Linked DNA regions of Homo sapiens: regions 1, 2 and 4 are each linked to region 3. The links are contacts of gene promoters, found by promoter capture Hi-C in blood cells and fetal thymus (Javierre and others, 2016). All regions are on one chromosome and are shown on one strand. The core of a region is centred on a gene start or on the middle of the fragment in contact, and the rest is flanking DNA. Distances in the headings are between cores, read along the strand shown.

Region 1 (2,700 bases), core at 179-2,678, 91 kb after region 3:
AATTTGTTATCCAACAAGACCCTTTTGAGAATGAAAGGAGGCACTGTTAATAGTCAATTCTGGGACAATAGGAATAAGCAGAACTGTTCTGTAAAACAGAAACCTTCATATATGTTTAACACAAGTCTCAAGTAGCCCCTCCCTCTACAATGTAAACTTTTTAGCAAAATCTAAATTTAAGTGGTTTGCTTTTTCGTTTTTCCTTCTTCGTTCTAATTTGTTACAGGCATCATTTTTATCACAAAAGCAACTTGGGATCATATTGATAATACTTTGTAGAATTAATTTTGTAAAATCTCATGGAATTAATTTTGTAAAATCTCAATTTTTAAGTATGCTTATTGCATTTTTTCTCACCATATAGGTGAAATAAATTTGAATGTAGAAAAATAAATTCTTAATCATAAACACTGTCTTACGTACATTCATATTGTACTTTCCCTTTTTTTTTTTTAGCACTTAGACATTAATATTTTAGGTATTGTTATTTTGATTATCTTTTTGTTTTTTGCCTTCCAGACAAATTATGAAAACAGAATATATAGCCTGAAAGTAGAATGTGGACCTAAATACCCAGAAGCTCCTCCGTCAGTTAGATTTGTAACAAAAATTAATATGAACGGAATAAATAATTCCAGTGGGATGGTAAGTTAATATAGTCATTTTGGTTTTATATAACATAATGTATAGAGTTATATATTATACGTACACACACCATAATATATGTAAGATATTAATATGTAGTTAGGAGAAAGTTTTTAAAAGAGGACCTTTGTTAAGCCAAAAGTCTAAAGAAGGTTGCATTATGTTGTTTTTCTTTTATTAATATAAATTAGGCCATCCTTAAAAACCTTAATGTACTTGCCTAGAATAGATGCATGTGGTGGTTAAAACTTTTTTTTTCTTTTCTTTTTTTTTTGAAACAGAGTCTCACTCTGTCACCCAGGCTGGAGTACAATTGTGCGATCTTGGCTCACTGCAACCTCTGCCTCCCGGCTTCAAGTGATTCTCCTGCCTCAACCTCCCGAGTAGCTGGGATTACAGGCACCTGCCATCATGCCCAGTTAATTTTTGTATTTTTGTAGAGACGGGGTTTCACAATGGCCAGGCTGGTCTCGAACTCCTGACCTTAGTTGATCCGCCCGGCTCGGCCTCCCAAAGTGCTGGGATTACAGGTATGAGCCACTGTGCCTGGCCAAAAGTTTTCTTAGGGTTTTAATTGCCTTAATAGTCATATTTCAGTTGATCTTTATTTGGTAAAAAGATGACCATTATTGGGCGGGGCATGGTGGCTCACGCTTGTAGAGATTGTGCCACTGCACTCCAGCCTGGGTGAAAGAGCGAAACTCCGTCTCAAAAAAAAAAAAAAAAAGAGATGATCATTATTTCTCTTTGAATGTTACTTTTCTGAGGGTTAAGGTACATTTGGTGGGATTAAAAGGATGACTGTTCATGAAAAGGATGAATATTCATGAAGGGTTTTTTTCTTTAAAGAGCAAATATGTCTGTGTTGAAACAGTCATGGCTGAGCATCATTGTCTATTTATTTTTGGGTTTCACTCTGTCCCCCAGGCTGTAGTGCAGTGGTACTCCCCCACTTCCTGTGGCCTCAAGTGATTCTCCCACTTCAGCCTCCCAAGTATGTGAGACTACAAGGCACATGCCACCAAGCCCATCTAATTTTTGTATTTTTTGGTAGAGATGGGGTTTCGTCATGTTGGCCAGGCTGGACTCAACTCCTGACCTCAAGTGATCTGCCCACCTTGGCCTCCCAAAGTGCTGGGATTACAGGCGTGAGCCACTGTGTCCAGCCCATTGTCTCTTTAAACAAAATGACATGCCCTGCTTGACCCACACAAGTTAGTTAGTAGAAACAGCTGAATTTCCAGTATGAGTAGATTGTTAAGTTCATGATAAGTCTTTGAAGCCTAGGCTCTCTTGGTGCCATGTTGAGAGCACGCCACATACAAAATACATTTTAGGAAGCAAAATAACATATCATCATCATAAAATGAGTATCATCCATCTTAGGAAATAGGGCCTCAGTATCCTTGATTTCTCATCCCATCCCTGCGTTCCCTCTCTCTACCAGTGTATTTTGTACTACAAATGTATCACATATGTACACAAATTCATCCTCCTTTCTTCTCTCCTTCTCTCTTTCCTTCTCATCTGTTTACCATCTGTTAAAAATCACGAGTTTATACTAACAACTCCCACTAATTTTATTCTAAAACTATAGGGTTTGTTCTATGATTCTTCCTTTCCAGTTGAGAAACCTGGCTCCCATGCTTCCCAGTGCATTTACTTATTTGCTCAATTTCCCCTTCATATAACTGTACTTCTGGCAACAAGTTGAATCTTGGATTCACAGCCAGCTCCCTGCCCCTCAACCCCAACCTAATACGCAGGTCTGAGGCGGGGCCCCAGATTGGCTGGTGCATCCAGCAGGGAGGCACCAGGCCAAATAAAGCATGACCCTGAGAAAGGAAGAAGCTGGGAAAGGTCATTGGAAACCTTAGCCCTGCACCTGCTGGGCCATTAACACCCCCCCACCCCTGTGCCAACTCAGAGCTGGGACCTGAGAGTCTCTCCAGCCCTCACAGTCCTCAGTTGGTCAGTCTTTGTGATTTACTGGGAGCATTTAGTCCATTTACATTTAATATTCTTAATTACTGACATGTTCAGGTTTAAACAGAT
Region 2 (2,700 bases), core at 128-2,627, 100 kb before region 3:
CACTCTAGGGGCAAACAGAACAAGGGGAGTCTCCCTCCAGTGTTAGCCTCTCACTCCCATGACTCCAGAGTGAGTAAAAGCTTCACGGCAACCTTTCTGGCTTGCTGTTGCTTTATTCAGCTACCTCGAGCCCGGCAGTTCCACTCTCTTGAGTTCAGCTGAGCCACTGACAGCTACATCAATCTCTTTCAACGGACCCTTGTTAAACTGAACCCCTCTTAATTTTTTCATTTTATTAAGCAGAAAACAAAGTATTTCATTACACTAAGACAAAGAAATCTAAATTTGGTTAACTGTGAAACAAATGAGATAGGTACATCCAGAGACAAGCGTGTGAGAAAGCTCCACGTATTTTTTTGTGGTGGGGGGGTGGTGGTGGAGCTGGGGGAACGTAGTCTCACTCTGTCGCCCAGGCTGGAGCTACAGTAGTGCCATTTCAGCTCACCACAACCTCCGCCTCCCGGGTTTAAGCAATTCTCCTGCCTCAGCCTCCCGAATAGCTAGGATTATAGACATGCAGCACCATGTCCAGTTAATTTTTGCATTTTTTTAGTACAGATAAGGTTTCACCATGTTGGCCAGGCTGGTCTCAAACTCCTGACCTTAAGTGATCTGCCTGCCTTGGTCTCCCAAAGTGCTGGGATTACAGGTGTGAGCCATCATGCCTAGCCCCGCATGTGTATATTATATTTAATACAGACTGTTCTTACCATCTCCTCACATGAAAACGTTTGTATGCTGTCAGTGTCCACAGTTTTAAATGAGTAGGCAAAGCACCAACACACACACACATGTCTACACTGGTGGGTACTGCATTTGCCTCAACATAACATGGTGTTATCATCTGGCAGCTACTGCTTTAGCCCTAATCTTGCCATTGCTGGTATTAGTCAATACTCTGGGAGTAGAGAAGATGGCACAAATGCCAAAATCCAGGGACTTCAAGGCAGGAGTCCTCAGAGCCTCCCATTCAGGGTTGGTTGAAATTCAGTTTACACATAGTTTTAATAAATTTGCAATCTCATTTCTAAGGCAAGTAAAGGCAGCAAACAAAACAAAACAAACACCTGACAGCTTCATAATAAAAGCAAGGTCAGACGAATTACCAAAGGCAAAGGAAACAAAACAAAACCAAAGCAGGCTGAGGCCATTTGGTTTAGGAGCACACCAGCAATGTAGCAACAAATGCTGAAAACCATAGCACAGTCAGTGAGAGGGACCTGAATTATGTGTCATAGGCTCTATAGGCTATTGGCAAAGGATAATATATTAACATAAAAGATGCATCAATCCTTACTGTTGGAGTGGCCAAGCCTGTCCATGAAAGAATAGTGGCCACTATCTCAACCACCATGTAGTGAATTCCTTCTCCTCCATTGTTTTCAGAAGCAGCCAGCTGCAGCAAGGGGCTAAGCCAGTGCTTCGCGTAAGGGCGAAAGACCTACAAGAGGATGTAAAAGTCAAACATCAAAGAATGGTCTTAAATTGCCAAAATATTAATACAAGACTGTATCTTCCATCAGCTAAAATTTTATACTATGACTGGACCTAAAGCCAAAAGCGAGGTAAGCACGTTAAAGTGAAGGCATTAGTGTGGGCCCTAATCAAATATGACTGGTGTCCTTATTAAAAGAGGAAATCAGGACACAGAGACAGATACAAGGGGGAAGATGAGGTGAAGACACAGGGAGAATGCCTGTGACACACCACATAGTGCTTGAGGCTGCCGGATGCTAGGAGTAGCCTGGACCAGGCTCTCTCATAGCTCTCGAAGGAACCAACCCTGCCAGCAGCTTGATCTCAGGCCACGGCTGTCTGAGTCCCCCCAGTATGGCACCCTGAGACCATGTGCCCAGGGTGTGAAGAATCAAGTGAGCCCCGAGGAAAGAAGGTGCTGCTGCAGCCCTAGAGCAGCCTGTCAGGGATGTCCTGACAGACTCGCCATGTCTGCAGAGCTGCCCAGAATGACCTTCTACGGAGCCAAGTGGATGGTGTCACCCCACCACTTAGTGCCCTTAGTGGTTCCCTGGTGCTCAATGAATGAGCCCAACCCTCTGCATAGCTCTGGATGGCCTGGCCTGGCTCTGGTCCAGACCACACTCCCACAGCCCAGGCAGTCAGTGCAGACCTGCTTGGCTCACCCAGGGACCACCCGTGCTATGCTACTCCTTCCCTGCCTAGTGCAAACTCTCACTGCACTTCACCACGTCTAGCTCAAAGGCCTTTCCAAAATGGACTCCAAGATGCTCCTACCTCACGAACTCAGCAATTGCCTAAGAGTCCGCTGTTTTTCATATAGAGTTAACAGGAATATTTTCTCCCCCGCTCCACCCCCCGCTTTTTTTTTTCCTACTATAAGGAAAGAACGTTGGCAGCCGTAAGAAAGCAGCTACATGTACTTTATACAAAGACCACTTCTAACTCACGAGAGGTGAATTTACATATGTTAAAAACGATAAAAGAATGGTGATGAACAAGTAGATAAATATTGGGTGGCTAATCAGAGAACAAAAATGTCATGCTCTGCCCCTTTATATTTTCCTTTTTTGTGTGTGTTTTTAAGTATATTCATAGAATTGCAATTGATTCATTCATAGAATTGAATAAACAGACTTACAGAATCTATTCAAAGAATAAAGAAATAATCAATTACTTACCTCTTCTGTATTAATAACAAGCTTGGCTAAGAAGAGACGGATA
Region 3 (2,700 bases), core at 140-2,639:
TTTTTTTGGGACGGAGTCGTGCTCTGTTGCCCAGGCTGGAGTGCAGTGGCACAATCTCGGCTCACTGCAATCTCCTTCTCCTGGGTTCAAGACATTCTCCTGTCTCAGCCTCCCGAATAGCTGGGACTACAGGCGCTCGCCACCATGCCCAGTTAATTTTTGTATTTTTAGTAGAGACAAGGTTTCACCATACTGGTCAGGTTGGTCTCCATCTCCTGACCTCAGGTGATCCAGCTGCCACAGCCTCCCAAAGTGCTGGGATTACAGGCATGAGCCACCGCACCGTGCCACATATAGCATCTAGTTTAAACTGTTTAAGTTATTCCTACACCATATTCACTACTAGACCCTCCGGAAGAAAATCTCACCTTTTAATAGGGCACAACATCAAGGTCTGCATACTCGTGTTTTAAAGAAGGAATACAGGAGATCCACATAATTAAGTATTTGAATATTTAAAATGCTAAAAAGAGGCACTTTTACTACAAAGGGGAAAAAGTTCCCACCCAGGCATTGCTAAAGAGTTAAAAGAACATGACTTCAATTACATTTCTTCAATTTTTCTCAAAGTAGGAACGGCAAATAGAGGGGTTTGGAAAAGGTACTGGTGGGATTAGGCGAGATTCAGGTGAAAGAAAATACTTTCTCTTGGCCGGGCCCGGTGGCTCACGTCTGTAATCCCAGCACTTTGGGAGGCCGAGGCGGGGGGATCACGAGGTCAGGAGTTCGAGACCAGCCTGACCAACATGGTGAAACCCCATCTCTACTAAAAATACAAAAAAATTAGCCGGGCGTGGTGGCGCGCGCCTGTAATCCCAGCTACTCGGGGGGCTGAGGCAGGAGAATAGCTTGAACCCGGGAGGCGGAGGTTGCAGTGAGCCGAGATCGCGCCACTTCACTCCAGCCTGGGCGACAGAGCGAGACTCCGTCTCAAAAAAAAAAAAAATTATTTCTCTTGCCCTGCCCCCCACTCTGCATAGCAATGATTGCCATATTAGGGGTCGTTTTCACCAACTTTGGCTTTAAAATATCTTTCCTCTAATACTAGGGGGTAAAAAGCAGTATGACAAATCCCTTTATACACATACACAGAAATTCCCCCAAGAATCTAATTGCTGTACTTCAAAATACCGTCATCTAAACACAGAGAAGCGCCGGGCTGCCCGGCTCCAGAACGACTCGGGAAGCCAGGACCCACCCGCGGCCCAGCTCGGGCCGGTACCCACCCAGCACCGCGGGGCTGCTGCTCAGGACGCATTCCTGCCCCAGGCCGCGGATCAGTTGATGACCGGCCAGGGCAGCACCGCAGCGGTCCGCAGCGGACAAGGTCTCCTGCAGCCGCAGCAGGGAGCAACGCACACCGGCTCCGGAGCCCGCCATGCCGCCGAGTCCCGCTCCCGCGCGTGCGCCCGCTCGGCCCGGACCCGGAAATGCCCCTACGCGCGGAGGCGGGGCTGCGGGGCGCGGCGGCAGGAACTTTCCCGGGGACCCCTGCGGGAAGGCCTGGCCAGTAAGCGCGCCTCTTTGGCCCGAATCAACATGGAAACCTAAGGAAAAACGTCTGACCTGCGGAGGTAGTTTGGGTGGCTACTTGGTGTTGGACTTGGCTAAATAAATACCAGAGGCAGATAAAACAAGCGAGGGGCCTAGGTCAAGAGTTCCAAGTTTGTTCCTCGATAAAAAACGACAAACGCGGTCGGGGGCGGTGATGCCCGCCTGCAGTCCCAACACTTTAGGAAGCTGAGGCGGGGGGATCGCAGGAGTTCGAGACCAGTCTGGGCAACATAATGAGACCATCCCCACCACCTCCCGTCCTTAATTTTTTTTAATAAAAAAAATCTTTAAGTGAGAAATGCATCTGTAATGTCCTTATTAACCAAAAACGCCTAAGGGATAAAGAAGCACACGCTCCCTAGCCAACGCTAGAGGAACACACCCCGAGAGCTGGTGCTGTAGGACCCAGTTTTCCCGCGAAAACGCTGCCGCGCAGGGGGTCAGACCATCTGGACCAAGGGGGGCCGAGCGAGGCCTACTTCTGGTTTACGCACGGGCGCTGAAAGAAGCGGCACTGTCCCCCCCTGCCGATGCGCAGTGGCGCCTCCCGGAGGCGGAGCCACGTACGAGCGCCGCTGTGATTGGTGAGGCCCCGCCAGGGGCGGAGACGACCTTGCCGCCGGCGGGAACTCTGGGTCTCGCGGTTTGGGAGCGCTACTCGCCAGGTGGACTCGGAGTCCGCGAGCGTCGTCGGCAAGCGGCCGCCTTTCCACGGTAACCGCGCGCCGGCGGGGAGGGCGTGGCGCGGAGCCGACGGGAACGTCCGCGCTGCGGAGCAGGGCAGGGAAGCCGGGAGGCGGGCCCGGCCCGAGCTTGTCCTTGTCGCGCAGGTACTCCGAGCACTATGTCGTCCCCGGCGTCGACCCCGAGCCGCCGCGGCAGCCGGCGTGGAAGGGCCACCCCCGCCCAGACGCGTGAGTCCCCCGAGCCGGGCCCACTACAGCCCCCGGCGCCGCCCCGTCTGCCCTCTCGCCGCAGCTGGCAGCGCTGGGTGGGTGCGCGGGACCCGGGCGCTCAGCCTCGGGCTGGGCGCTGCCGCTTGGTGCGCACAGACACCCACAGCAGGCTGTGGCCTGGGTGCTGCTTAATTCGATTGCCATTTGCCTCTGTTTGGTTTGGTTCAGTGGTGAGTCATAATGCCCCAAG
Region 4 (2,732 bases), core at 226-2,725, 130 kb before region 3:
GAGCAGTCCCGCAACCTGGTTTGCAGGTGACATTGGAGGCAGTGTCTGGCAGGAAGCCTGTTCACTTCGTCTGTATCCTGTGACAGAAACTGCATCGTTCTGATCAAATTCTTGACAAGATACAAACCTTCTCTCGTTTTTGCTCAGCAACGCCTTTTCTGGCATACATCAAACTGAGCTTCTCCTGGTCCCTCATAAACCGTCTGCGCAGTCGTAGTAGGTCCGTCCGGCCGGCCGCACCTGGAGAGGGAAAGCAGGCCCAGTTACTCCCCGCCGCCCAGACACTTGGCTCTGCTGGTTCATTTTCACCTCGGGTTTCCTCAAAGACAAAACCTACAGGTGCCGCAGAGGCAGCGACCGGGAGCAGGAGTGCAGGGGCCACAGCTGCAACTGGAACTGCTCAGCAGTGGATTCAGCAGGCATGAGCGCTGAACGGGCCAGGCCCCTCCAGAGGGAGGCCCAGGGAGGGCACGCAGCCACCTTCTGAACCCCCGCCCAACTCGCCTGGCAGTGCTTTGCCTCTGGCTAACTGAACTAGAGAGGAGCTGCCTCGGAGGCTTCAACACCTGGTGCAGACCAGCCTCCCTCGGGACTGTGGCAACCTGACCAGGGACAGGTGACCGCAACACTCCTAACCCGTATGATTCCAAATGCCTGTTTAGTACCCCACCAGGAGACACCAGCCTTAACCTCCAAATCACGACAGGTTCTAAGGAAAGTTTCAAATATGAACAACACAAGCCAAAGTAAGCAACAAGGAAAGAGCAACTGTTAAAAGCAGATCATGCAGGAAAAAATTTCAAAACATGATCATTTATCAGAAAGAGAAGAGTAGGAACTGAAGAAATGTTCAGAGCATGAAAAAAAGCTCATGGAAACTGAAACGTGTCATAACTTAAAAGCACAGGTTGAAAGATAAGGTTGAAGGGATTTCCCAGAAAAGAGGAAAAGGAAAAAATATGACACCTCAGAAGGACACTCACGCAGGTGAGATATCTAAGCACTAGGACTCCAAAAAGAGAAAACAGCAAACTGAGATGAAGAACTCAACAAAATCACCTGTGATGATGCTCCAGAACTGGAAGGTGAGAGTCAGCGGCCTGGAAGCTCCCGCCATATGCCCAGAAAAACAGACTGAAACGGATCTACGCCCAAGGACACTTGTGCGCAATGTCAGAACACTGGTTTAAAAGAGAAGATCCCGAGAGCATCCACAGAGAAAAGACCCACGTTCTCACAAAGCATCCCCAAGGAGGATGGCACCAGGCCTGGCGCCCGCAGCCCTGCAAAGCAGGGAGTCCAGGGGCCCCACGTATGGAGCTCCACAGCAGCACTCCCGCCAGACCACCAAGCCATCAGATCCCAGAGAAAGCTCCCTGCTGCTGACCCCATTCTCAGCACCCAGGTGGCTCCACCTGAACAACCGCCACCAGCACTCCTTCAACTCACAGCACATGCCAAAAGGTGGGCCACACTGACCTCTCCAGGTTCCATTTAGAGAACTGTGTGTGGGCCACAGGTTTGTGACTGAAAAGTATGAGAGAGTGGTGGAGTAAAGCAAGTTTTGTTGCCTGTGTTTCAGTTCCTACGATTAGATAAGAAGGCAGGGAGCTTTGCTTCTAAGTTCTTCTAAGTTTACTTCCACAGAGCTGAGCTTCCCTGCTGGCGCTCCCCCAGGGTTCTGTCATGGGCCCTTTCCTCTCTGCACATGTCCTTCCTCTGGGCCCTTGTTCCCTCCCAGAGCCTCACTTCTTTCTCACAAAAAGCTGCTTCCAGCCTCTCGGCACCCGTCTAGTTCTGGTCATCTGTTAGCCAAGACCAGGTCCTGGTGCCTGCCTCCAGTCCCCATCACTCCACTTCTGCCCCACACAAACCTCAGAGAAGGGCATTCAGTCCCCGTGCCTTCCTCTGCTCGGTGCGTTACAAGGCTGCTTCCTAAAGCTGAAGTTCGACATACACCCCCACACCCACAAGACTGTCCTCACAGCACCCTTTGCCGTTACTCTAGCATGCCCCGAAGCGTCCCTTCACCTGGACTGCAGAATCGATCTGAGCCTACCCACCCTGACACTTCTCCATCCCTGTCCTTTTCATCCTTTCCCTTCCTGCACCCCCAGCTCCAAGGCTCCTCTCAAATGCTCTTCCTCCACCCAGTCTTTTTGGACGCTCTCCTCATTCTCCACCTGTATTAAGCCCTCTAGCCCTAGACCATGCTTGCTAATTCCACCTCTTGTTACAATCACCCCTTTATAAATGCCTCACCCACTCTTACTGCTCCAGAAGATCACTCAACAATGGATCGAGTATAACTTACTGAAGGATTCTTCTGGAACTCCCAGAAAACAATTTCTTCAGCATGGTGAGTGCCTAGGCAACATTAACTGAATTTTAAAGGGCTTGATTACGAATGAGAAGGAAACATGGATACAGTCAGAAATGTCCCCAGACCTGAGCTCTGCAGTAATTTAGTGGGGAAGCTATTTTAAGCACACTCAGCAACCCAGCTTACCTTTCACTTTGTTATCCACCTCGTCCCCTGGAAGGCCCAGCCTTTTTTTCCCAAAATCAGGCCCCACTGACTTCAAGGGTGCTCTCTGTAACCTTTCACTCCTCTTGTGGGCAAACAGCAAGGAGTCAGATGAGGGACTGGTGTGGTCGACCAGCGGGTCAGTGCTGCTCCCGGTCAGCCAATCAAATGAGCTTCTTCCATCTGTGACATGCAATCAGAGAGG

The links. The method cuts DNA at HindIII sites, captures the fragments that hold promoters and counts their contacts. A CHiCAGO score of 5 or more calls a contact.
Region 1: a fragment that was not itself captured here is called in contact with the fragment with the promoter of PRKDC in region 3 in 1 of 17 cell types (naive CD4 T cells); the score reaches 5.4 in naive CD4 T cells.
Region 2: a contact is called between a fragment that was not itself captured here and the fragment with the promoter of PRKDC in region 3, in 12 of 17 cell types (erythroblasts, activated CD4 T cells, fetal thymus and 9 more). The highest score is 14.1, in erythroblasts.
Region 4: a contact is called between a fragment that was not itself captured here and the fragment with the promoter of PRKDC in region 3, in 12 of 17 cell types (erythroblasts, neutrophils, activated CD4 T cells and 9 more). The highest score is 12.9, in erythroblasts.

What each region holds. Positions count from the first base shown.
Region 1 is chr8:48,049,334-48,052,033 of GRCh38, forward strand. UBE2V2 (ubiquitin conjugating enzyme E2 V2) reads left to right here. Exons shown (of 4, transcript NM_003350.3): 3 at 520-645. Among named protein-coding and RNA genes, the nearest start is that of UBE2V2, 42 kb to the left of the region's middle. The HindIII fragment of the contact is 3,323 bases long and covers 1-2,700 here.
Region 2 is chr8:47,855,859-47,858,558 of GRCh38, forward strand. It overlaps PRKDC (protein kinase, DNA-activated, catalytic subunit), which reads right to left. Exons shown (of 86, transcript NM_006904.7): 48 at 2,658-2,700; 49 at 1,298-1,441. Among named protein-coding and RNA genes, the nearest start is that of PRKDC, 100 kb to the right of the region's middle. RefSeq lists an enhancer at 1,992-2,491. The HindIII fragment of the contact is 2,598 bases long and covers 79-2,676 here.
Region 3 is chr8:47,958,747-47,961,446 of GRCh38, forward strand. PRKDC (protein kinase, DNA-activated, catalytic subunit) reads right to left here and starts at 1,390. Exons shown (of 86, transcript NM_006904.7): 1 at 1,227-1,390. The coding sequence starts at 1,380. MCM4 (minichromosome maintenance complex component 4) reads left to right here and starts at 2,195. Exons shown (of 17, transcript NM_182746.3): 1 at 2,195-2,268; 2 at 2,385-2,468. The coding sequence starts at 2,399. RefSeq lists an enhancer at 859-1,018 and silencers at 1,199-1,248, 1,259-1,558, 2,229-2,628. The HindIII fragment of the contact is 8,899 bases long and covers 1-2,700 here.
Region 4 is chr8:47,831,687-47,834,418 of GRCh38, forward strand. It overlaps PRKDC (protein kinase, DNA-activated, catalytic subunit), which reads right to left. Exons shown (of 86, transcript NM_006904.7): 59 at 2,510-2,710; 60 at 128-240. Among named protein-coding and RNA genes, the nearest start is that of CEBPD, 95 kb to the left of the region's middle. The HindIII fragment of the contact is 8,728 bases long and covers 1-2,732 here.